Linked DNA regions of Homo sapiens: region 1 is linked to region 2. The links are contacts of gene promoters, found by promoter capture Hi-C in human tissues and cell types (Jung and others, 2019). All regions are on one chromosome and are shown on one strand. Each heading gives the region's core, a stretch centred on a gene start or on the middle of the fragment in contact. The rest is flanking DNA. Distances are from core to core; before and after follow the strand shown.

Region 1 (5,266 bases), core at 2,136-4,635, 640 kb before region 2:
AGGCAGGAGAATAGCTTGAACCTGGGAGGCAGAGGTTGCAGTGAGCCGAGACCTCGCTATTGCACTCCACACTGGGCGACAGAGCGAGACTCCATCTCCAAAAACAAAAAAATAAATAATATATATATACACACACATATATATACATACATATATACACACGTATATATGTATATACACATTGGTCTCTGCCCCAGTTGCTGGCACAGAGCCCCTAATACTCATGTAATTTTCTAAGCAGTAGGGGTGCTAAGACAATCTTTTGTTCTAACATTTGGTCTTTGACCCTGGTTCCTGACACAGAGTTCCTAAATCTGTTGGAATTTCCTGGGTGACAGGAGCGGAGCTCTTTTGTTCTAATGAGGGAACTCTTGGCAGATCCCTGATATCCTCAGGATTGGAGCTGGTTGACAAGGGAACCAACCTGTGATTAGATGGTTGGAACTTTCAGCAGCCCCCTGACTTTGGGGAGGAGAGAGAAGCTGAAGGCTGAGTTGATCACCAAAGGCCAATGATTTAGTCAGTTGTGTAGGTCATGAAGCCTCCCTAAAAACCCAAAAGGACAGGGTTCAGAAGAGCTTCCCAACAGCTGAGCACAGGCAGATTCCTGGAGAGGGGCATGCCTAGAGAAGGCATAGAAACTCTGTGCATCTTCCCCACACCTCTTCCTGGGCATCTCGTCCATCTGGCTGTTCATCTGTTTTTTTGTTTGTTTGTTTGCTTGCTTGTGACAGAGTCTCACTCTGTTGCCCAGGCTGCAGTGCAGTGGCACAATTTTGCCTCACCACAACCCCTACCTCCCAGGTTCAAGCGATTCTCATGCCTCAGCCTCCTGAGTAGCTGGGACTACAGGCACATGCCACCATGCCCAGCTAATTTTTATGTTTTTAGTAGAGACGGGGTTTTGCCATGTTGGCCAGGCTGATCTCCAACTCCTGACCTCAGGTGATCTGCCTGCCTCGCTCAGCCTCCCAAAGTGCTGGGATTACAGTGTTCATCTGTATTCTTTGTAATATCCTTTATAAGAAACCAGTATACATCAGTAAGTGGTTCCCTGAGTCTTGTGAGCCACACTAGCCAATTAAATAAATCCTGGGAGCCCCAGTTTATAGCCAATTGGTCAGAAGCACAGACCACGACCCGTGCTTGCAGCATCTGAAGTGGGGGGCAGCCTTGTGGGACTAGAGCCCTCAACCTGTGGGATCTGACACTATCTCCAGGTAGATGGTGTCAGAACTGAACTGGAGGACACCCAGCTGATGTCTACTGGGGAATCCGCAGAATCGATGTTTGGTGTGTGGGGAAATAACCCCCGCATATCTGCTGTTGGCAGTGTTGAGTGACTGGGTAAGAGTAGGAAAAATCACTTAGGTTTGTTCCTCTATCTCACACAGATATTAAGTATGTTCAGATTGCTGTGCAACCCTTGCTTATTTTGAAAATGGGTTTTCTGTTGTTGAGTTTTAGGAGTTCTGCATGCATTCTGGATATTAATCTCTTATCAGATATATGATTCACAAATATTTTCTCCTATTCTGTGTGTTGTGTCAAAAACACAATTTCAACACATTGAGTTTTAAAGATTTGGCTAGATGTGGTATCTCATGCTTGTAATCTCCTTACTTTGGGAGGCCGGGGTGGGGGGATCACCAGAGCCTAGGAGTTTAAGGTTACAGTGAGCTAGGATTGCACTACTGCACTGTAGCCTGGGTGACAGAGCAAGACACTGTCTGTAAAAAAAATAAAGATCTAATTAGCTTTTATTGGTGATTCATGAACTGAGCAACATCCAGCCTACAAAATAGACAGGAGCTCTACCAGGCATGGCAGAGCAGTAGGTTTTTCTAAGGCAGGCAGCTTGACCAGGAACAAGGAAACAGCATAGTGGAAAAAGTGGATTGGTTGGCTGGGCGCGGTGGCTCATGCCTGTAATCCCAGCACTTTGGGAGGCCAAGGAGGGCAGATCACGAGGTCAGGAGATCGAGACCATCCTGGCTAACATGGTGAAACCCCGTCTCTACTAAAAATACAAAAAAAATGAGCCGGGCTTGGTGGCGGGCGCCTGTAGTCCCAGCTACTTGGGAGGCTGAGGCAGGAGAATGGCGTGAACCCGGAAGGCGGAGGTTGCAGTGAGCCGAGATTGCGCCACTGCACTCCAGCCTGGGCTACAGAGCGAGACTCCATCTCAAAAAAAAAAAAAAAGTGGATTGGTTAACATTAGGTTCCTTCGGGTTACTTTCCTTGCATGGCTTAAAGCAGAGGGGACTTCCTTATCAAGCAGCTTAGGTTGAATGGGCCCCTTTTGATTGGTTGCTGTGAATCTATTTTTTTGTAAAACTGACCTATTGGGGATTTGACTGTTGCCTCTCTCCTGATTTCTCAGAAGGTCAGATTTTTTTTTTTTTTTTTAGACAAGAGTTTTGCTCTGTTGCGCAGGCTGGAGTCCAGTGGCACGATCTCAGCTCACGGCAACGTTTGCCTCCTGGGTTCATGCAATTCTCCTGCCTCAGCCTCCCAAGTAGCTGGGATTACAGACATGCACTACCACACCCAGCTAATTTTTGTATTTTTAGTAGAGATGGGGTTTCACCATGTTGGTCAGGCTGGTCTCGAACTCCTGACCTCAAGTGATCCACCCGCCTCGGCCTCCCAAAGTGCTGGGATTACAGGCGTGAGCCACCACGCCCAGCCCTAAGGTCAGATCTTATAAGCAAACAGCTTAGGTTTCAGTTTGGTGACATGGAACCTTAGCATGAGTGACTCCATTTTGGGTCAGCCTGTAGGGGCCTAGTGTAGGAGGAGCTCAGTACAAATCAATGGCCTCCATTTGGCCAGGCACTGTGGCTCACACCTGTAATTCTAGCACTTTCAGGGGCCGAGGTGGGAGGATCCCTTGAGCTCAGGAGTTCAACAATAGCCTGGGCAGTATGATGAAACCTCTTCTCTACAAAAAAATAGTAGTCCCAATTACCGGGGAGGATGAAGTGGTAAGATCGCTTGAGCCCAGGAGGTCAAGACTGCAGTAAGTCATGATGGCATCGCTACACGCCAGCCTGGGCAACAGAGTGAGACCGTGTCTCATAAAACAAACAAACAAAAAAACCAAATCAATGGCCTCCCATAAATATACCAGAACCCTTTGTTTTTCTTTGATGCTGTTCAGGCTCAGAAAATGATACCCCAAAGTATGCTGCTTTAGCATGCTGAGTGCTTTGAACTAAAGGAGACTGAAAGGTTCCAGAAGCAAAGTCTCTCTCTGACCTTCTCCTGCCCTCCTATCTCCCATCCCTCTTTCTCCACTGAAGTGAGAATCAGAACCCTTCTTCCCAAGGCAGGTTGTAGTAACTAGAATCCCACTCCCCCAGAGCTAGCCACAAAACCTAGAAAAGTTACTCTGTCTAGGCTGGGCACGGTGGCTCATTCCTGTAATCCCAGCACTTTGGGAGGCCGAGATGGGCGGATCACCTGAAGTCAGGAGTTCGACACCACCCTGGCCAACATGGTGAAACCCCGTCTCTACTAAAAATACAAAAAAAAAAAAAAAAAAAAAAAGTTGGGCGTGGTGGCACACGCCTGTAGTCCCAGCTACTCAGGAGGCTGAGGCAGGGGAGGTTGAGGCAGGAGAATTGCTTGAACCCAGGAGGCAGAGGTTGCAGTGAGCTGAGATTATGCCACTGCACTCCAGCCTAGATGACAGAACAAGACTGTCTCAAAAAAAAAAAAAAAAGAAAGAAAAAAAAAGCGAGGTTACTCTCCTCTTCTCCCTTGAAGACCCTCATTCCAGAAGAGTCCTGCCGATACCTAGGGCAAAGAAATGCTACACTGAGAGACCAAGAAGAATTTGAACCTTACTGGGTTTCTTCCCCTCAGTGTATTACTATTAGATCACACCCTTTTTGTCCAATCATATTTCTACATGGCTGTCCATTCTTCATTCAACCTAAGCATACAAATAGTTTTCCCTTGGTCTTTAGGTCTTCATTTCCAGAAGCTCCTGTATTGTGTAAAATGTTGTAAATAAGTTTGTTATTATTTTCTCTTGTAATTCTGTCTTTTGTCATAGGCATGTTGGCCATGACCTTTATGATTGGTGAGGAAATGTATCAAAGCTTTCCAACCCTTCAATGCACAAAAGTTAATTTCAATGAGGTCTAATTTGTCTTTTTTTTTGAGACAGAGTCTCACTCTGTAGCCCAAGCTGGAGTGCAGTGATGCAATCTTGGCTCACTGCAACCTCCTCCTCCAGAGCTCAAGCGATTCTCGCCTTGGCCTCCTAAGTAGCTGGGACTACAGGAGCACGCCACCATTCCCAGCTAATTTTTCTGTATTTTTAGTAGAGATGGGGTTTCACCATGTTGCCATGGGTGGTCTCGAACTCCTGAGCCCAGGTGATTCACCCGCCTCAGCCTCCCAAAGTGCGTGAGCCACCACACCCGGCCCCAGTTTGTCTATTTTTCTTTTGTTGCCTGTGCCTGTGGTGTCATAGCCACAAAATCATCACCAAATCCAAAATCATGAAGCTTTCCCTCCATCCTTGCTTCTAAGATTTTTATAGTTTTAGCTCTTATATTTTTTTTTTTTCAGGCGGAGTCTTGCTCTGCTGCCCAGGCTGGAGTGCAGTGGCGCGATTTTGGCTCACTGCAACCTCGGCCTCCTGGGTTCAAGCGATTCTCCTGCCTCAGCCTCCCGAGTAGCTGGGATTATAGGCGCACATCACAACACCTGGCTATTTTTTTTCAGTAGAGACAGAGTTTCACCATGTTGGCCAGGCTGGTCTTGAACTCCTGACCTCAGGTGATCCACCGGCCTCGGCCTCCCATAGTGCTGGGATTACAGGCGTGAACCACCACGCCTAGCCAGCTCTTACTTTTATGTCTTTGAGAGTGTATTGTGTAGTGAAAACACCCTGTAAACCACATCTTTCCTCTACTCTCACATGACAACAATCATCAACATCAAGACTTCTGTGGCCAAATGTGTAGGGGGTTTTCCCCACACATCAAGCAGTGGACACCAGGTAGGTGTCCTCTAATTCAGTTCCGACACTATCTGATAGTGTCAGATCTCACAGGTTGATTGCTCATTCTCCAAGACCACCCTCTCCCCCAACACCAGTGGCAAGTCCAGACCAGAACTCCAGAATCTTTTTTTTTTTTTGAGATGGAGTCTTGCTCTGTCACCCAGGCTGGAGTGTGCAGTGGTGTGATCTCAGCTCACTGCAATCTCCGCCTCCCAGGTTCACGCTGTTCTCCTGCCTCAGCCTCCC
Region 2 (5,793 bases), core at 1,030-3,529:
CATTAATTATTGTACAGACGGAAGATTCTGAGGTTGAAATACCTTGTGAGAGACTGACAGTATTAAGTGACAAAACTGTGTTCTTTAAAAACACTTCTAGGCAGGCACTGAGTCAGCATTCCTGGCCCTCTGGCCAGAACTGGAGTCACAGTCCTCTAACTATACATGCAGGCAAAGTAGGACACAGTCATACGGCCACACAACAGTGGGTGAATCAGTGTTCAGATACTCCATCCAAAGCTGGGGGCATTCACAGGACTCTTCTTCTCTTGAGAATGGTCCTCTTCCCACCTACCATCCCACCACACTAAGAAATTAGAAAGTGGCCAAGAGAAGGCAACGCCATTTCAGAGTAACCTGTCTGAAATGAATCTTGATGGGAAACAAAGAGCAGACAATTTTTTCAAAACTCCCTTTCTAATCACCAAGTCCTCTCTCCTGGTTACAATCAAATTTAACATCAAAACCCCAAAAGCTCTTTATCCAAGTCCTGTCTCCTCTGCTTCTTAGTAGCCCCTAAATCCATTCTTGCTCAGTACCACAGTTCATCCTCTGATGTGAAAAGCCTCTAAACCAACTCTAGTCCTCTCCTTTTCTTCCAAAGTGACATTCTCATGTCTGGCCCTTGTTATTCATCTCCTAATGTTCCCCACCTACAATTATGTTCTATCAATAGCAACTACATCTAATAACCTCCCATCCAAACATGCTACACTCTTGTCACCAATGCCTTTGCAAACTATATACTCCTTTTATTTGGAATTCCTTTCCGTCCCTTCAAGGAGACTTCTATTTCTCCTTCAAAACCACCATAAGACATCATGTCTCCCAGAGTTAATCCCTTCCTGAGCCACTGCTATACCTTGCACGTATTTCCCTTGTTCCGTCTACCACACTGAGTTACAAGGCCAAGGTCACATAGCTATTAAGGTGCTATGTAAAGGGTGGGACCTAGGCTTGCCTGCCTCCAGAGCCATGCCCCTTCGCTACACTGGAATTGAGGGGGTAAAGCTTTACAAATTCGTCCATTAAAAGCAGCACATGGGCATTTATATGAAACTATTTTACGTAAAAAAATGAAAGTGGATTCCAAGCACCCAAGTGTCCATGTGAATGCTTTAACAACAGTTTGAAAAATAATGTGAGGACACAAACATTTTATTCCCCACTCTCTAACCTAGGAACCTAATGAAACTTTTTTTCGTTGACAGCTGTAGTTACACTGGCAACACTCACTCCACACAATTTCTGATTCAGCACAGCTCTAAATTTAATCTTTCCTTGTTTTAATACACCGTCTGTGAAAAGCAGCAGACTTCACAAAAGAATAGCCTTTATTCCCCCTATTGTGACAGCCTACATAAAAGGTACAAAATCATTTGTAAATACTAAAGTGACAGCCCTTCCCTTTAGCAGCTGGATACAAAGGGCATCTCCTGGGAAAAAAAACCAACCCGTGATCTGCTCCCGTTGGAGGTGAAAAAGGGAGGGTAACTCAATCTGCTATCCTAACTGAGGCCTTATTCATTCATGGCCCGGATCCATTTTTGGGACAGGGCAACCGGAGGCTTTGTTCTCGGAGCAACATCCACCAAAGATGCTCCAAATAAAGCACAGTGATTTCAGTGGAAATTTCCACACAACCAGGTCACCTTTCGACAGCTCTCCGGAATAACAGAGCACAACTACACTCCAAGGGAAGAGAAGGGAGAGTTTCCATTGCCGTGCTGAAGCCATTTTTAATCATACTGTAAACTTCCAGAGTCCAGACAGTTTCCTGAAACCTTCTTTGTTGGCGATTTGGGGTACTTACCTTCCTCTCTGGCTTCTGAATTTCCGGCAGGATGACACAGAAGGGCTTGATGACTTCCAGAAATTTGACTTTGATGGGAGAAACAAAACAGGAAGAGTTGGGACACAGAGAAGTAACCTTCCGCGCTACCCAGGGACGCCTTCTGCCCACGACGAGTGAGAGCAGGGGCCAGGGGAGCCGGCCGCACCCCGGACGCGTGGGGATACTCGAGAAGGGCCGGGGGCACGGGCCGCGTTCTGCAGGGGGCCGGTCAGGGTTGGCCGGCGGGCGCCCGACCGCACGGGTGTGGGGAAGGGGGATCTGTTCCGTCCCGGCCTCAATAGGGCTTCCCTACAGGACTCACTTGCCATGGCGGCGGCTGCTCGGGCTCCGGGTCCCGCTTCAGCTCAGCTCTGCTCCGCGTGAGGCGACGCTGCCCGCGGCCCAGCGCGTTCCACTGCACAGCAGCTCCGCCGAGAGACACGTCAGTGCTAGCCCGGCGGCAAGCGGCGCGGCGCGGCGCGGGGCGGGGCCGGGGCCGGGCCTCGGATCGCTTCCGCTTCCTGCCACGCGCGCCCGCCGGCCGCCGCGCTTCGCCGCGCCGCGCCGCTTCGCCGAGACCTCAAGCCCCGGCATGCAGCGGGGCTCCTGGGGCCTGTCGGGAAGGGGCCTGGCGCGCGGGGCCCGCCGGGACTGGGGGTGTGCGGCTGCGCAGACTTGGTAACGCGAGAGCGCGCGGGGAGGGTGTGTCACGCCTCCCGAGACTGGGGCTGTGCGGCCTCACGGAGAAACTGAGGCAGGCGCGAAGCGTCGAGTGCGCGCGTGGCCCTGCAGGCAGGCGGAGACCCTGGTGGCTCCCATACACGTAACAGCACTCACTGCTCTTTGACGTTAGTGAATAGACCGTAAGCTCCCTGGAGCAGGGACCTTATCCCAGCGTCTACCGCGGCGCCCGTCACCTAGTAGGTCTCCGTCATTACCTGCTGAGTAGGGCGCGGGCTGGTGGGGCTTACCGAGCACCCTCGCTGTCTGAGTCATTAAGCAAACCCGGAGGCTTGTCGTGGGTGTGGGTCCCCTTCCATCTGAGAACGAATGGGATGAGTTTCTGGAGAGACTTGGCCGGAGAAGGGCCGGGGCAGCTCGGGAAGTAGTCTGCCTCACAGAAGAATTCAGGAAGGCCTCCTGGGAGAGTACCTTTGTGCCGAGCCTTGATAGATTCTGGCGAGAAGGAATGAGGGAACAGGTTGAGGAGACTGTTGTGGGCAAAGCATGGCGGTGTGATTGCCTAAGATCGGTGTGGGAAAGGGGGATAACGGGTAGGGCAAGGGATGCTGGGGCTGGGGGTTGGAATTTACTTTCAGGCATCTGTAGTCAGTAGGTATGATGTCATCTAAGAGAAACAGACTTAATGCTGTGAGCATTTAGCAGGGAGGAGGTGGGCACGCCTTGTGGGATCAGGCAAGGTTTCATGGAGCTAAACCTTGACCAGGACAGGTAGAAGTTGAGGGTACATATGTGGCAAGATGCTTTTTTGCTTTTAATTTAGGTGTCAACTATTTGGATTTTTCCATTCTCACCCATTTCTAGCAGATAATCAGGTTTTGTACATTCTTGGCTCAGAAAGTTGGACAGGACAGGAAGTCTTTTTTGGAATACAAACCCACTGGTGGAAAATTCAAAGGACTACTGGGAACAGGCAGGTAACTTCAGTGAAGTGGTCTAGGTGTGACATCACTTGATATCCATCCCCCACCAAAAAGGGGAAAAAGAAGACATTGACTCTTTATTCAGAGTCTGAAATGCAACCCATCTTCACTTCCAGGACCCACTGATGATCTCTTCTGGAGTTTTGGCCTGAAGCTAAAACTGGCAGCCCCTGGACTAAGTTCAGCATATAGACTAGATCCGATATTTAGCCATTATGCACCCTGCACCATATTGATGGTTAAAATGTTGAAATATTTCGAGGGTAAATAGTATAGTAATTACAATAAATATTACAATTAGTTAATAGAAATTTTAATATAAACTCATTGGTTTGTGCTAATAGTTGTAGGATGTCAGTACCATTGATAACAGGCCTCCTGTTGTTTCCACATTATGACACAATCTGGCCTGTGTCACTGCAGGGACTGCAGCCAAGTTACGTGTGTTAAATCACTGATTGCTTTAGGAGAATCACTAGTTTAAAATATTTTTATTGGACTGGGTGCAGTGGCTCACACCAGTAATCCCAGCACTTCGGGAGGCCAAGGCAAGAGGATCACTTGAGCCCAGGAGTGCAAGACCAGCCTGGGCAACATGGCAAAACCCTGTCTCTAGAAAAAAATACAGAAAAAAATTAGCTAGGCATGGTGGCGCATGCCTGTAGTCCCAGCTACTGGAAAGGCTGAGGTGGGAGGATCCCTTGAGCCTGGGAGGTCGAGGCTGCAGTGAGCTGAGATCTCACCACTGCACTTCAGCCTGGGTGACGACAGAGTGAGACTCTGTCTCAAAAAATAATAAAATATTTCTATTGTAAGCACATACATTAATTCTTCGGAAAATAGGTATGCAGTGTTTTATATTTATACATTTAAGATTTTATTATAGGATATTAGAAACATCCACCTAGAATGAAAGAGACCACAAAAATCTGGATGAATTTTCAATACTTTTAAGTATGATAAATGTAAATCTTGATATCTGCAGAAGAATAAACAAGAAATTTGTAATAATAATGAATCCCCGCCTGGAACTTCTTTTGATACTGTTTAAGAATCAGCACAAAATAAAATTTATAATTTATAAGATAAACTTTATTACATAAAATCTATAGTTTTGTAGTGAAAAAATAATTTTTTTCAACCAAAAATTTGACATTGCTAGTGACAGAAATGTTGGGTACTGAGTGCTCAGAAGTTCTATTGTTAAAAGATCAAAGTGTTAAACATATATTCATCAGAATGCTCTTAAAGCTTGTGCAAGTGAAGAAAAATTGTGATTATCGATGAGAAAAGAACTTAAAAGAATATAATCAGTTTCATAAATTAAGTATTTGAAAACTTAGAACTCCCAAAAAGGTTATCAGAGTGAGGATAAAGCAATCAAAAAGATTTAGGGCCAAGCTTGGTGGCTCATGAAATCCCAGCACTTTGGGAAGCCAAGGTGGGCAGATCACTTGAGGCCAGGAGTTCGAGACCAGCCTGGCCAACATGGTGAAATCTCGCCTCTACTAAAAATAAAAAATTAGCTGAGCATGGTGGTGCGTGCCTGTAGTCCCAACTACTCAGGAGGCTGAGACATGAGAATGGCTAGAACCCTGGGGGGTGGAGGTTGCAGTAAACCGAGATCTCATCACTGCACTCCAGCCTGGGCAACAGAGCGAGACTCTGTCTCAAAAAAAAAAAAAAAAAAAAAAAAAGATTTAGAAGGTACTGTCAGAATTTTTAGCACTATTATATAGTTAAGTATAATTGAGCATTTCACACACATTTACTAGAACTTCAAAAGGATTAATATTGATATGAACACGCCATTGTATTCTGGACCCACCTGTTAAAAACCAGATGTACCCAAATGAGAAAACAGCTTTTTGAAAAATATGTAAATCAAAGAGGTGTATTTAAAATCATCATCTAAGAAGCTTCATTTTTTTATGTGAATGTGTTTTAATAATTAAAATGCAAATTTAAAGGTTTTTGAATATAATGGTTTTTGTTGATCTTATGACACTGGGAAACATTTAGTACACTGTATTGTCTTTATTATGAGTACACAAGAAAGAATTACATTTGAGATATAGTTCCATAAAGATGTAATTGGAATATTGTACCAAATAAGAAAATTGTCATTGGATTTTATACAAAAAATGCTAATGTAATTCTAGAGAGAGTATGGAGTTTCAGCCAAAAGTTTAGGAAAAATGTGGATGTTTTAATTTGGCACTAAATTATCAAATTTAATTTTGGATAAACCAATACAAGTCAGGGAACTCATGCTTTTCTTGATAAACTATATTT

The links. The method cuts DNA at HindIII sites, captures the fragments that hold promoters and counts their contacts. A contact is called where the count stands out against the background at its distance.
Region 1: a contact is called between a fragment that was not itself captured here and the fragment with the promoter of SEC61A1 in region 2, in 1 of the 25 tissues and cell types used here (dorsolateral prefrontal cortex).

What each region holds. Positions count from the first base shown.
Region 1 is chr3:128,688,951-128,694,216 of GRCh38, reverse strand. No RefSeq gene overlaps it. Among named protein-coding and RNA genes, the nearest start is that of RAB7A, 35 kb to the left of the region's middle. The HindIII fragment of the contact is 7,361 bases long and covers 1-5,266 here.
Region 2 is chr3:128,048,923-128,054,715 of GRCh38, reverse strand. It overlaps SEC61A1 (SEC61 translocon subunit alpha 1), which reads right to left and starts at 2,279. Exons shown (of 12, transcript NM_013336.4): 1 at 2,157-2,279; 2 at 1,814-1,881. The coding sequence starts at 2,163. LOC102723759 (a long non-coding RNA gene) reads left to right here and starts at 2,541. Exons shown (of 4, transcript XR_007096073.1): 1 at 2,541-2,754. RefSeq lists a silencer at 1,966-2,605 and a cis regulatory region at 2,098-2,714. The HindIII fragment of the contact is 6,890 bases long and covers 1-5,158 here.